Regions from separate parts of the Homo sapiens genome. Here region 2 is linked to region 1. Evidence: promoter capture Hi-C in 16 types of primary human blood cells and fetal thymus (Javierre and others, 2016). All regions are on one chromosome and are shown on one strand. The core of a region is centred on a gene start or on the middle of the fragment in contact, and the rest is flanking DNA. Distances in the headings are between cores, read along the strand shown. Region 1 holds the start of STAM2 (signal transducing adaptor molecule 2). Region 2 has its middle 42 kb from the start of RPRM.

Region 1 (5,736 bases), core at 1,398-3,897:
TTACTCATTTTGTGTCCATAGATTAACACAATGCTTGACACACAGTAATTATTCAATGTATGCCTGCTGAATGAAGAGTGAACAAAGGAATGACCAAAAAAAAAAAAGGGTAACAAAAATCTGACTGAATCAAAGAGAACAAGTGAAAAAGACAATGACAATGTAAAGTAACATTTCCTGTAGACATCTCAAGTCAAATAATGACTTGCTTTGTGTATGCGTGTGTGTCTGTGGGCGTATATACACACATATATATACATATATATATATATGTATACATATATATATATATTTTTTTTCGAGACGGAGTCTTGCTCTGTCGCCAGGCTGGAGGGCAGTGGCGAGATATTGGCTCACTGCAACCTCCGCCTCCCGGGTTCAAGTGATTCTCCTGCCTCAGCCTCCCCAGTAGCAGGGACTACAGGCACGCGCCACCATGCCTGGCTAATTTTTTGTATTTTGGTAGAAACGGGGTTTCACCATGTTGGTCAGGCTGGTCTCAAACTCCCGACCTCCAGTGATTTACCCGCCTCGGCCTCCCAAAGTGCTGGGATTACAGGCGTGAGCCGCTGCGCCTGACCCTTGCTTTGTATTAACGATTTGAAATGAAAAGTTTTAAGATATTAAAAACGTAATATATAATTTTTCTTCTATGATATACGTGCAAGTCCAATTTGAGCTCTTTAGTATTTCATTCTACTTTTTCTAATTCCATTCTCTTGTCCAGAAGTTACAGGAGGGCCTCAAATTCATTCTTTCACCCTTAAAATGCCTTTGGGGTTCTGAATTCAGTCATGCTTAAGCTAATATGTAACTACTTGAAGCTCTGGCTTATGGCACTGGCCATAAAATAATCTAGACACAGTTTTTTTGTTTGTTTGTTTTTTTAATCTCAACAGCAGTGCCTCCTTTACAACTGTAGGACTAAACTGTGATCCACTAAACCAATGCTGGGGCCTCGGGAGCCAGGCAGGGAAAGGTTTAGAACAGAACAGACAGAGCAACTCTGCCTACTTGTACCAGAGAATTTTTCCATCAGAAAACAATGAACTTTCAAGAAAAATTTATATTGAAGAAAAGAATTCACGGTTTTTAAGTTTTAAAATCATTTGTCTAATTCTATTTTGCGCCTTCTGTTTTATTTCATTAGAACAGAATCAAAGTGTTCATAATAGCAATTTTTTAAAAGTACAGGTTGCACAAAGGTTGTATGATTCAAACAAAAGAATACTGCAATGAGGCGTTCCAAAAGGAAACAGTGAGCCTTAAGAGTGATGTTTCCCAGATTTACGCCAGTCACCTGTATTCATCCACCAAAAAAAAAGTTTAATGAAGTAAGGAACATACATATTTGAACTATTTACATATATTATTTGACTCAAACATGTTTTTTAAAATGGCTTAGGGGATTACACAACGTATCAGAATAGGGCACTTTCTACAGTCTCCTAATAACCAAATGTTAACTATGAAACAGGGGAATTACTGCTGAGATGTGCAGTATTCTTCTGAGTCTCCCCGCCCCAACCCCATTTCCAAGTTCTAAAAATTTACCTAGGGTTCTGTTAACTACTGCTACAAAAACAAACAAAAAACAAACCTGTAGTCCCAGCTACTCGGGAAGGGGAAACGGAGGTGGAGGCTGAGGTGGGAGGAATTCTAGTCGCACCTGGGCAACATAGTGAGACCCAGACTTTCGAGAATACATACATATATTTCTCAGTTTGTTTTAGTGTTACTCAAATTTCCTAAATAATTTCGTATATATCTTATCCATGTTTTTCTCATTCTATAGTCACTGAGAGACCAGCGCTTTATGACTGCAACATGTAAAATACTTGTTGTTCTGGAGTGTTTTGAGACTGGAGATTTCCTTTTCATACTCTAAAACCGAACATCTCCTAGCACCCGCGCAATCTTTGCAATCCGGGGATGAAGAGCAACACCTTTACAATTGTAATAAATCTTAAAGCTACCCTATCAGGGATTGAATGCATGAGTAATATAAATAATGGGGAAGTAAGTTCTTCCTATTCAATGCGGTTGTCTAGGTGTCAAGTGTCTAGTGTTGGGCTTCTCTAGACAGCAGGGTCTCCACTGCTGCATCATCTTCAGAAAACGATGGGGCAAAGACGGAGGTAACCAGCTGTCGAACGAGCAGGAAGTTTTTAATCACCAACTCCACAACTACTTAATCAGTCCAGTCTCCAGCGAGCCCTAGGCTCTTCCCAAATCCTACGCTTGGCAAGGAGAACGGCCCTTTGAGGGTCCCCAAACTCAGGCGGCAGGAAGCACTCCCCAGACCGCTAGCGACGCGCCGAGGTTGCCCCAGAAAAATCCCAACGTCGAAGGAGCGGGCGGCACCGCCCCTCCCCTCCCTTCGCTTTGCTTCCTAGTCCCCGGAGTCGCTACCGCCCACTTTCTAGCCGGACAAACAGCAGTCCAGGGCCAGGCACACAGCAGTCCAGGACCGGGCACAGCACTCACCCACGTCTTGCTCGAAGGGGTTGGCGGTGAACAAAGGCATCTCGCCGGCGCCCGAGCCCTAGTCGCTGCTGTCTAGCTGACACTCAGCAACTGCTACCCGCCGGGTGACCCGCGGCCGCGGCTCCCTAGACCGCTCCGCTTCGGCCTCCGTCCCTGCACTTCCGCCACCGCACCTGCCCGGCTCTTGCCTGACAGGCCGGCTCGGAGTCCACCCTTCGATCCCGCGCTCCTGTCCCAACTTTTCTCCCGGGGCGAGATCCCTCCGACCATGGGCGTCCTCCCAAGGCCTTTGTCGCTGCCCCTGTCCCAGACTTTTGTAGGGGTCAGGCGGCCGCTACGGCCACCTTTCCAGCGCTAGGACCCCGGCTAGCCACGAAGCCGGGGACCTTCGGAGCCGGAAGTAGTCCCGCCTGGAACTGGACGACCCCGGAAGCTGCAGTGCCAGCGGCGGCGCGGCAGGGGGCGCGGTTACCCGTGGTTTTTCGCGTTGGACGACGGGCTCTGAGGGCCAAGTTCTTGTCACGAATTTAGTTTGTTTCAGAGCGGCAGGACTCGTAGCTAGAGAACGAGGACCCACGACGCGTACGCGTTACAGTCCTGTTTCCCTAGAAACGGAGCTGCCGGCGCGGAGGTGGCTTTGAGATTCTGCGAAAGACCTGACTGCTCTTCAACAATTATTGTGTTGCACCCTCCCAGGCGCCCAGTCCAAACCCCGTCAGAATAACCACCCGGGACAGCGGTGGTCGAAGTAACTACGCCTAACTTTTCGCTTTCCATCGTGTCCCCTCCATAAAAACACTGCTGGGCCCCCGGAATCCAAAGGCGAAGGAGGCACACTCCCTGCCTTAGACTTGTTGAGAGTTTTATAGGGGCAGTGCATAACGTACATGATGGTGTATGACGATTCGGATGGTAGTACGAGTCATAAACTCAAATTCCAACAGCATCCAGCCAGGTATTTAAATGAATGCAAAAGCCCAAGCACCCTTCCCACCCACATATTCTCTGTTCCTCTTAGAAAACTGTAGTAATGATTATGTTGCCTGTCTCTCCTCCTCATTAGATTATAAACTCCCTGATAAGTTTTGGTCACTACTATATCCCCAGCGTCTAAAACAGTGTCCCAAGTAATAGACGCTCAATGCTTTTCGAATGAAGCTGTAACTTTCTAACTGAACAGTGCGTATCTAAAGATGTCAACTACTGGTAAATTGCAGCCATTTATTGAAATGTGGGTCCTACTAGAGTTTGCAATTTTTCAATGATGTTTAAATGTTGAGAATTACTCCAACATTTTAAATAATAGATTAATCAAAACCATTTTACAAACTCTAGTATAAAGACCTGATGCTATAGAGAGCTCATACACATTCAGAAAGGTGGTTGCATTTTATAAAGTTCGGGGCACAAATGAGAAGGAATCGTGCAGAAGGGGCTGTTTTTCATAGAACGTTGAACCTAGGGATGTTCAAGATAAATTGGGAGGCCGGGCATGGTGGCTCACGCATGTAATCCCAGCACTTTGGGAGGCCAAGGCGGGCAGACTGCTTGAGGCCAGGAGTTCAAGACCAGACTGGCTAACATGGCGAAAAACCGTCTCTACTAAAAATACAAAAATTAGCCAGGCATGGTGGCGCAAGCCTGTAATGCCAACTTCTTGGGAGGCTGAGGCACGAGAATCACTTGAGCCCAGGAGGCAGAGGTTACAGTGAGCCAAGATCAGGCAACTGCACTCCAGCCTGGGCAACAGAGCAAGACTCTGTCTCGAAAAAAGAAAAAAAAAAAAGACTTAGAGATTTTTTGGACAGATAAAGACTTTTTGTCTAAGACTTAGTGTTGGAATGGAAAACAAGGCTGACTAGGTATAAGAGGAAACAGATTGACAAGAATTTTAAAGGGCAAGCTGGGAATTTTTTATTTTGATTAAGGCACTCAATAATTATTTAAGGATATTGGGTAGCAGAATAGTAAAAAAAAATTTTTTTTGAGATGGAGTCTCACTCTGTTACCCAGACTGGAGTGCAGTGGCGCGATTTGGGCTCACTGCAAGCTCCGCCTCCTGGGTTCACACCATTCTCCTGCCTCAGGAGAATGGCCAAAACTGGCCATAGACAAAATCTCTGCAGCACTGTGACATGTTCGTGATGGCCATAATGCCCACGCTGGAAGGTTGTGGGTTTACTGGAATGAGGGCAAGGAACCCCTGGCCCTTCCAGGGTGGAAAACCACTTAAAGGCCTTCTTATGCCACAAACAATAGCATGAGTGATCTGTGCCTTAAGGACATGCTCCTGCTGCAGTTAACTAGCCCAACCTATTCCTTTAATTCGGCGCATCCCTTCGTTTCCCTTAAGGGATACTTTTAGTTAATTTAATATCTGTAGAAACAATGCTAATGACTGGCTTGCTGTTAATAAATACGTGGGTAAATCTCTCTTCGGGGCTCTCAGCTCTGAAGGCTGTGAGACCCCTGATTTCCCACTTCACACCTCTATATTTCTATGTGTGTGTCTTTAATTCCTCTAGCGCCGCTAGGTTAGGCTCTCCCCGACCGAGCTGGTCTCGGCAGCCCTTGTTGAAGGAATACTTATGGCAATGGTGATCACCGCTATGGTAGCTACCATTAAATTACTCGTTGTGATTGGTTGTCCCGCTTTCCTCAGGTTTTCTTCTGCCATCTGTGACAGCTTCTTGGTCTGTCCCCAGGTGGGTGGCTGTGTTTGATGGGTATAGCTCACGACAGTTGGGGTCCTTCTCAGTGTCAGTCTCAACATGGCTGCAACCGGGGGGGGGGGTCCTTGGGATCCTCCCAGAATCTCTTCCTTGGCATCTGGCTAATGATAAGGTTTCAGGTGTCTTGATGGTATCCAAATCGGCTGTTGATTTTGGCCTGGAGAAATACAGCATAACCTCTACCCCAAGTTATTATTTTACCTATTTCCCAACTTTTTGTTACCGGATCTCTCCACCAAATCAGTTGTTCTGCTTCTGTCTTTGCATCTGGTTTCTGTAGATGCTGTTCAGCTGCTGATAACATCTGGCCTTCTTTGGGCAGGCTCAAAACATTTAAAGTTAATAATGCTAGATTCAATTGTGTATGGGCTGTCCCATAATCCCTATTTCTCCCCCTTTTTTGTTTTTGTCATTAGTTGTTTATCTGTATGAAATAGTAACAGCATTTTTAATTAATTGTGTGGAATGAACCACGTATGAAGCAGCAGAAATGACATTAATAGGCATATTAAAAGCA
Region 2 (6,077 bases), core at 1,444-3,943, 1.3 Mb after region 1:
TTCAGTGTTCTTCCAATGACTTCAGACATGTTATCTGACCAATCCAAATATGTTCTTCTATTGTTTTTCTCATAGTTCTTTCTTCGTAGCCCTTATCATAATGAAAGTCACACACAATCTGTCTCCTTGTTTAGTGCTGTACTGCATGCTCTTTGATGGGAAGGACCATGTATATTTGTTCATCCAGGATACTTGATACCTGACATGGTTTCTGAAATGCGTATGGAGACTATAAAGATTTTATAAAAATGAGAATGAATAAGTGGAGAAACAAACAGAAGAAAAATCCTGTTTCTGAAGTAGAAATCCAAAATATACTAAGAAAACAAAGTCACAAGACATGGGCTTGAATCATGTCTGTTACTGACTTTATGTGACTAGGCAAGTATATTTTAAACCTCTTTGTATTCTAGGTACTGCTAAATTTATAAAGTAAAGGGTTTGTATGAGTTCTTAGTATTGGAGAAAGATTATTATTTTAAATTATAAAATTGTTATTTGAGTTCAATAACTAAAACTAGAAGTTACTGAACTAGAATAACTATAAATATCTATTAGATGGTGAAATATCTGGTATCTGGTTCTATAAATGTTTAGTGGGTTCCTAGAACAATAATTAACTTCTCTGAGCCTTTTCTTATCAGTCCCAGAGATGGAAAATGGGTTTCATATGAATTGAGAGCTCTACTGAAAAGGCTAAGAGCCTTGCATTGACTCAGCACAATACAGTACTGTAATTGGGTACTGTGATTTCTGACTTGGGCACAAAAGGGTGCATAAGACATATGCTAGCCAGATCATTTCCATCCTTGGAACAAATGACTTACTATATTCTTTAAATTTCTGCTAATTATGTCATTCTATATATGTTAAATTGTTGCTAAGCCATAGACTAAGAAGTTAATGGGTAAGTCTATTGTGTCCAAGGCTCCTAGGACTTTTAGAAACCCCTTTAGCTTAACTTTACTACAAATTGCTGCTATTTCACACGTCCAAACAGGATTCTGTTGATAAACTGTAAAATCGATATTTTCCATTTAAACGGCTTGATTTAATAATTCACAGGGTTGATAATGTTTATTACAAATTTTGATTGTTGATATTGTTAGCAGAGTTAATCTATCAATCCTGCAGGTCTAACAATTTCCTTTGAGTTCTGTGCTGAAATGAAAACAACTGGGCACAGCATGCCATAACACACCAAGTTAAAAGGATCAGGAAGAGTCTAAATAGGAAATTACAGTCAACAGGATAGTACAAGTATTCTTAGATTTCCAATTGGCTAACAATGATGGATTGCAGCGCCACCTGCTGGTCAGAAGCATTGTCTTTTTTTTCTTTTTAACTGTTTTATGATTTTGTTGCCCTTTCATGGGCTTTTTGCTTGTATGTCATCTATAAATGTAGGGTTTATTTAGATAAAGTTTCTTCTTCAATCAGTTGACAAATCAAGCCATTCTGTTGCTAGCTCACTTTTGCTATAAAAGATAGAGCAATAGGCTTCAATGGGAAATATTTCTTGTGATTAAAAATTCTCAACCTTATTTTTTCTCCTATTTTGTATTACAAATAGAATCCCCCTGTAAGAAGCTAAAGTTAGAGGAGTCACAAAAATGGAGTGACAAGGCACCATTGGAATCCATTACATTTTATTCCTTTGGGTTTGTTTTAGCACTTCAAGTTTAGTATTATTTCTTAGGTAAATCCAGAATATCTGGAGTGTTCTGGACATGTCACAAATTATGGCTAGCAACCCAGCAGCATATAATGTGGCCTGAAGATCTTCGTTTTCTTAGAGTCTGACTGCTTTGATTGGCTATTACTAACTGCAGATGTGGTCCATCTTTAATCTCTCTCCCTGTAGGGCTGGCAGCAAAGGCACCAGATGCTAAATTAAACTATTAAACATATGATGATGTTAATATGAGCCAGACATCTTCCTGTCTTACTAGAAAAAAAATTTACTCATTTAAAAATAATATTTAACAACATATTTGAGTTATTTATTTTAATGATCTTTGCACATATAATTTTTATTTCAGGCAGTAAGGTACCTTAAGGAATGGATAATTGTTGCATCTGTTTCTCCAGAGGTCATAAAAATAATACAAACACTAAGCAATTCAGGCTAGTGTAGATCCTAATTGGTTGGGAAGGTTAGCAGCTAAATTTTGTGATCTCAGGGCATCATTTGAGGTTCATAATTCTTCAAAATTTTCTGGTGACCAAAGAACACAGATATCTTTTCAAGCTTAGTTTGGGCTTTCAAAATTTTATGAATTGTTGGCTTCATTGAGAATCTAAAGATTTATTCAAAAATGCAATCTGAAGAAATCAGAACTCAGTCTGACCTCAGGAATGCTTCATTTCTTTATTTCTTTATTTTCTGGTCAGAAAAGGAGAACTCATCAGAGGTTCCCATGGAAGAGTTTTATCTTAATGCTCGAAAAATAAAAGTAAATGCTGAGAGGTTGGCGCATTGGCACCTAACATTTTCCTGCTATTGACTGCCCTACTGCTTTTCATTTCTCTTATAATTTATTTCAAAGACATTTTCTCTTCTATTTTGATTATTCCCAAAGTGATTTTAGAACCCTTTTAGTGGTACATTATTATCTTCATAAATTATTAGAATATAATAATCAAATCTGAATAATTTCCTTTCCGTAGACAAAAGTACATGAACAGAAGAGACCATGAGATATGTAAATCATAAATAGGTTATTTTGTTGATGAATATGAGCTCATGGAGATAATTGAATAGAGATTTCTTTTAAATTGCACATTTTATTAGTGAATGTTTATACATTCCCTATAGCTCCCAAAATTCCTTTTGGTGCATGACAGATTTAATTTTAACCCTATTTTATACTTTTAAAACATGTTATTATTTTACTTTAAAGGAAGACAGTGATGTTTAGGAAGTACACCTGAAAGCGCCATATAAAGTATCCTTGTAAGTTATATTTGTTCTATGTTACAGATGTTTTAAAGCATAGTCCTTCTTCTGAAGAGCTCCAAACATTCTTTTAACTCATTCTAATTTTTCATTAGTGTTTTCATTCTAATTAATTTACACAGGACCACTATGGTAGTGGATGATAAATACCATTAGGTTTTTTTTTTTCCTAATGGAAAAGCTTTACCATAAAGTTTTAAGTTGCTTGCCTAAGTTCTTATTGTCCAAAAACATAAACTACATCAAATTTTTAAAAGACTATTTTTGAGTAGTTTTAGGTTCAGGGCAAAATTAAGAGGGAAGTACAGAGATATCTCATATATCCCTTCCGTCTACACATGCACAGCCTTTCTCATTATCAACATCCCGTACCAGAGTGGTACATGTTATAATTGACGAACCCACAATGACACATCATTATCACCCAAAGTCCATAGTTTACATCAGGCTACATTCTTGGTGTTGTACCATCCTGTGGATTTTGACAAAGGCATAATGACATGTACCCACTACTATAGTATCATACAGAGTATTTTCATGGCCCTCAAAATCATCCGTATTCTGCCTATTTGTTCCTCTCTCCCTCTACTCCTGGCAATCGCTGATCTTTTTTGGTCTCCATAGTTTTACCTTTCCTAGAATGTCATATAGTTGGAATTATATAGTATGTAGCCTTTTCAAATTGATCTCTTTCCCTTAGTAATATGCATTTTATGGTCCTCTGTGTCTTTTCATGGCTTGACAGCTCAGCTCATTTCTTTTTAGTGCTGAATAATATTCCATTGTCTGGGTGTACCACAGTTTGACCATTTGCCAACTGAATGATATCTTAGTTGCTTCAAAATTTTGGAAATTATGAACTAAACTCCTATAAACATCTGTATGCATTTTTTTGTATGAATATAAATTTTCAGCTTCACTAGCTAAATAAAAGAGGAGCACATCATGCCTGTAATCCCAGCTCTTTGGGAGGCCGTGGTGGGCAGATCGCTAGCTCAGGAGTTTGAGACCAGCCTGGCCAACATGGTGAAAGCCTGTCTCTACTAAAAATACAAAAAATTAGTCAGGTGTGGTGGCACGTGCCTGTAGCCCAGCTACTCAGGAGGCTGAGGTGGGAGAATCGTTTGAACCTGGGAGGTGGAGGTCGCAGTGAGCCCAGATCGCGCCATTGCACTCCAGCCTGGGCGACAGAGTGAGGCTCTGTCTCAAGGAGAAAAAAATAAAGAGAGAGAGAGAGTGGCACAATAAGTGAGAGTGTGAGAAGTGAGGCACAAAACTAAACTTACTCATATGCTAAGAGTAAGTTTAGTTTTGTAAGAAACCAGTGTACTGTCTTCCAAAGTAGCTTTACTATTTGCATTCTTACCTGCACTGAATGAGAGTTCCTGTTGTTTCTGTTGGTGGTGGTGTTTTCATTCTGGATTTTGACCATCCTAAAAGGAGTATAGTGGTATCTTGTTGTTTTAAATTTGCATTTCCCTGAAGACATATGTGGAGCATCTTTTCAGGTACTTATTTTCCATGTGTACATCTTCTTTCGTGTGGTGCCTATTGAGATATTTGGCCCCCTTTTTAATTGGATGTTTTCTTATTTTTGAATTTTAAGAGTTCTTTGTGTATTTTGGATAACGGTGCTTTAATAGATATGTCTTTTCCAAATATTTTCTCCCAATCTGTGGCTTTTTGATTCTCTTCATAGTGTCTTTTGCAGAACAAAAGTTTGTAGTTTTAATGAAGTCCAATTTATCAATTCCTTCTTTCATGGATTGTGCTTTTGGTGTTGTATCTAAAAAGTCATTGATAAACCCAAGGACATGTATGTTATCTCTTCAAAGGTTGACAGTTTTGTGTTTTACATTTAGGTCTATGATCCATTTTGAGTTATTTTTTGTGAAGGATGCAAGGTCTGTGTTTACTATTTTTTTTTTTTTTTTTTTTTTTGCATGTGGGTGTCCAGTTGTTCCAAACACCATTTGTTGAAAAGATTCTCCTTTCAATTGCGTTGGCTTTGCTCCTTTGTCAAAGATCAATTGACTATACAGGTCTATTTCTGGGATCTATGTTCTCTTTTGATGATCCAAATTTTTCTGATTACTGTAGCTTTATAGTACATCTTAAAGTCAGGCAATATCAATACTCCAACTTTGTTCTTCTTACATATTGTATTGGCTATCTGAGTCATTTACTTCTCCATATGAACTTTAGAATCAGTCTGGTGATATCTACAAAAATAACTTGCTGGAATTTTGACTGGAATTGCATTGAATCTATGGACCAAGTTTGAAAGAACTGACATCTTAACAATATTGAGTCTTTTGTTCATAAAAACAAAACATCTCACCGTTAATTTAGTTCTTTGCTTTCTTTCATCAGAGTTTTATAGTTTTCCTCAGATAGACCTTGTACATATTTTGTTAGATCTGTACTTAAGTATCTTATTTGAGTGCTAATGTAAGTAATATTGTGAGTTTAATTTCAAATTCCACTTGTTTATTGCTGGTAGAGGGGAACGTGATTGACTTTTGTATATTAACCTTGTATCTGGCAATCATGCTGTAATCACTTACCAGTTTCAGAAGAATTTGTTGACTCTTGAATTTTATATATGGATAATTATATCATCTGTGAACAGAGTTTTATTTCTTCCTTTCTAATCTGAATATGTTTTACTCTTTTTTCTTCTCTTATTGCATTAGCTAGGACTTCCAGTATGATGTTGAAAGGCAGTGGTGAGATGACCTTGTTCCTAATCTTAGTGAGAAAGATTTGAGTTTCTCACTATTAAGTATGATGTTAGCTGTAGGTGTTTTGTACATATTTTTAAGTCAAGTTGAGTTATATATTTCCCTGTATTAAACATTTACTGGGAATTTTTTTTAATCACAAATGGGTGTTGGATTTTGCTACTTTTTCTGCATCTATTGATAGATTCATGTGTTTTTGTTTGTTTGTTTTCTAACCTGTTGACGTGATGAATTACATTACTTAGTTTTTCAAATGTCAAATCACCTTTGCATATCTGGCATAATTCTCACTTGATTGTGGTATATAATTCATTCTATACATTGTTGAACTCAATAACTGATATGTTGTTGAGGATTTTAAAATTGATATTCCT

The links. The method cuts DNA at HindIII sites, captures the fragments that hold promoters and counts their contacts. A CHiCAGO score of 5 or more calls a contact.
Region 2: a fragment that was not itself captured here is called in contact with the fragment with the promoter of STAM2 in region 1 in 3 of 17 cell types (total CD4 T cells, naive B cells and naive CD4 T cells); the score reaches 8.4 in total CD4 T cells.

What each region holds. Positions count from the first base shown.
Region 1 is chr2:152,173,116-152,178,851 of GRCh38, forward strand. It overlaps STAM2 (signal transducing adaptor molecule 2), which reads right to left and starts at 2,648. Exons shown (of 14, transcript NM_005843.6): 1 at 2,488-2,648. The coding sequence starts at 2,527. It overlaps LOC105373689 (a long non-coding RNA gene), which reads left to right and starts at 2,418. Exons shown (of 3, transcript XR_923477.3): 1 at 2,418-3,442. RefSeq lists enhancers at 2,186-2,235, 2,286-2,425, 2,586-3,109, 2,586-3,005. The HindIII fragment of the contact is 5,938 bases long and covers 1-5,736 here.
Region 2 is chr2:153,518,167-153,524,243 of GRCh38, forward strand. It overlaps a transcript of GALNT13 not described here. Among named protein-coding and RNA genes, the nearest start is that of RPRM, 42 kb to the left of the region's middle. The HindIII fragment of the contact is 889 bases long and covers 2,250-3,138 here.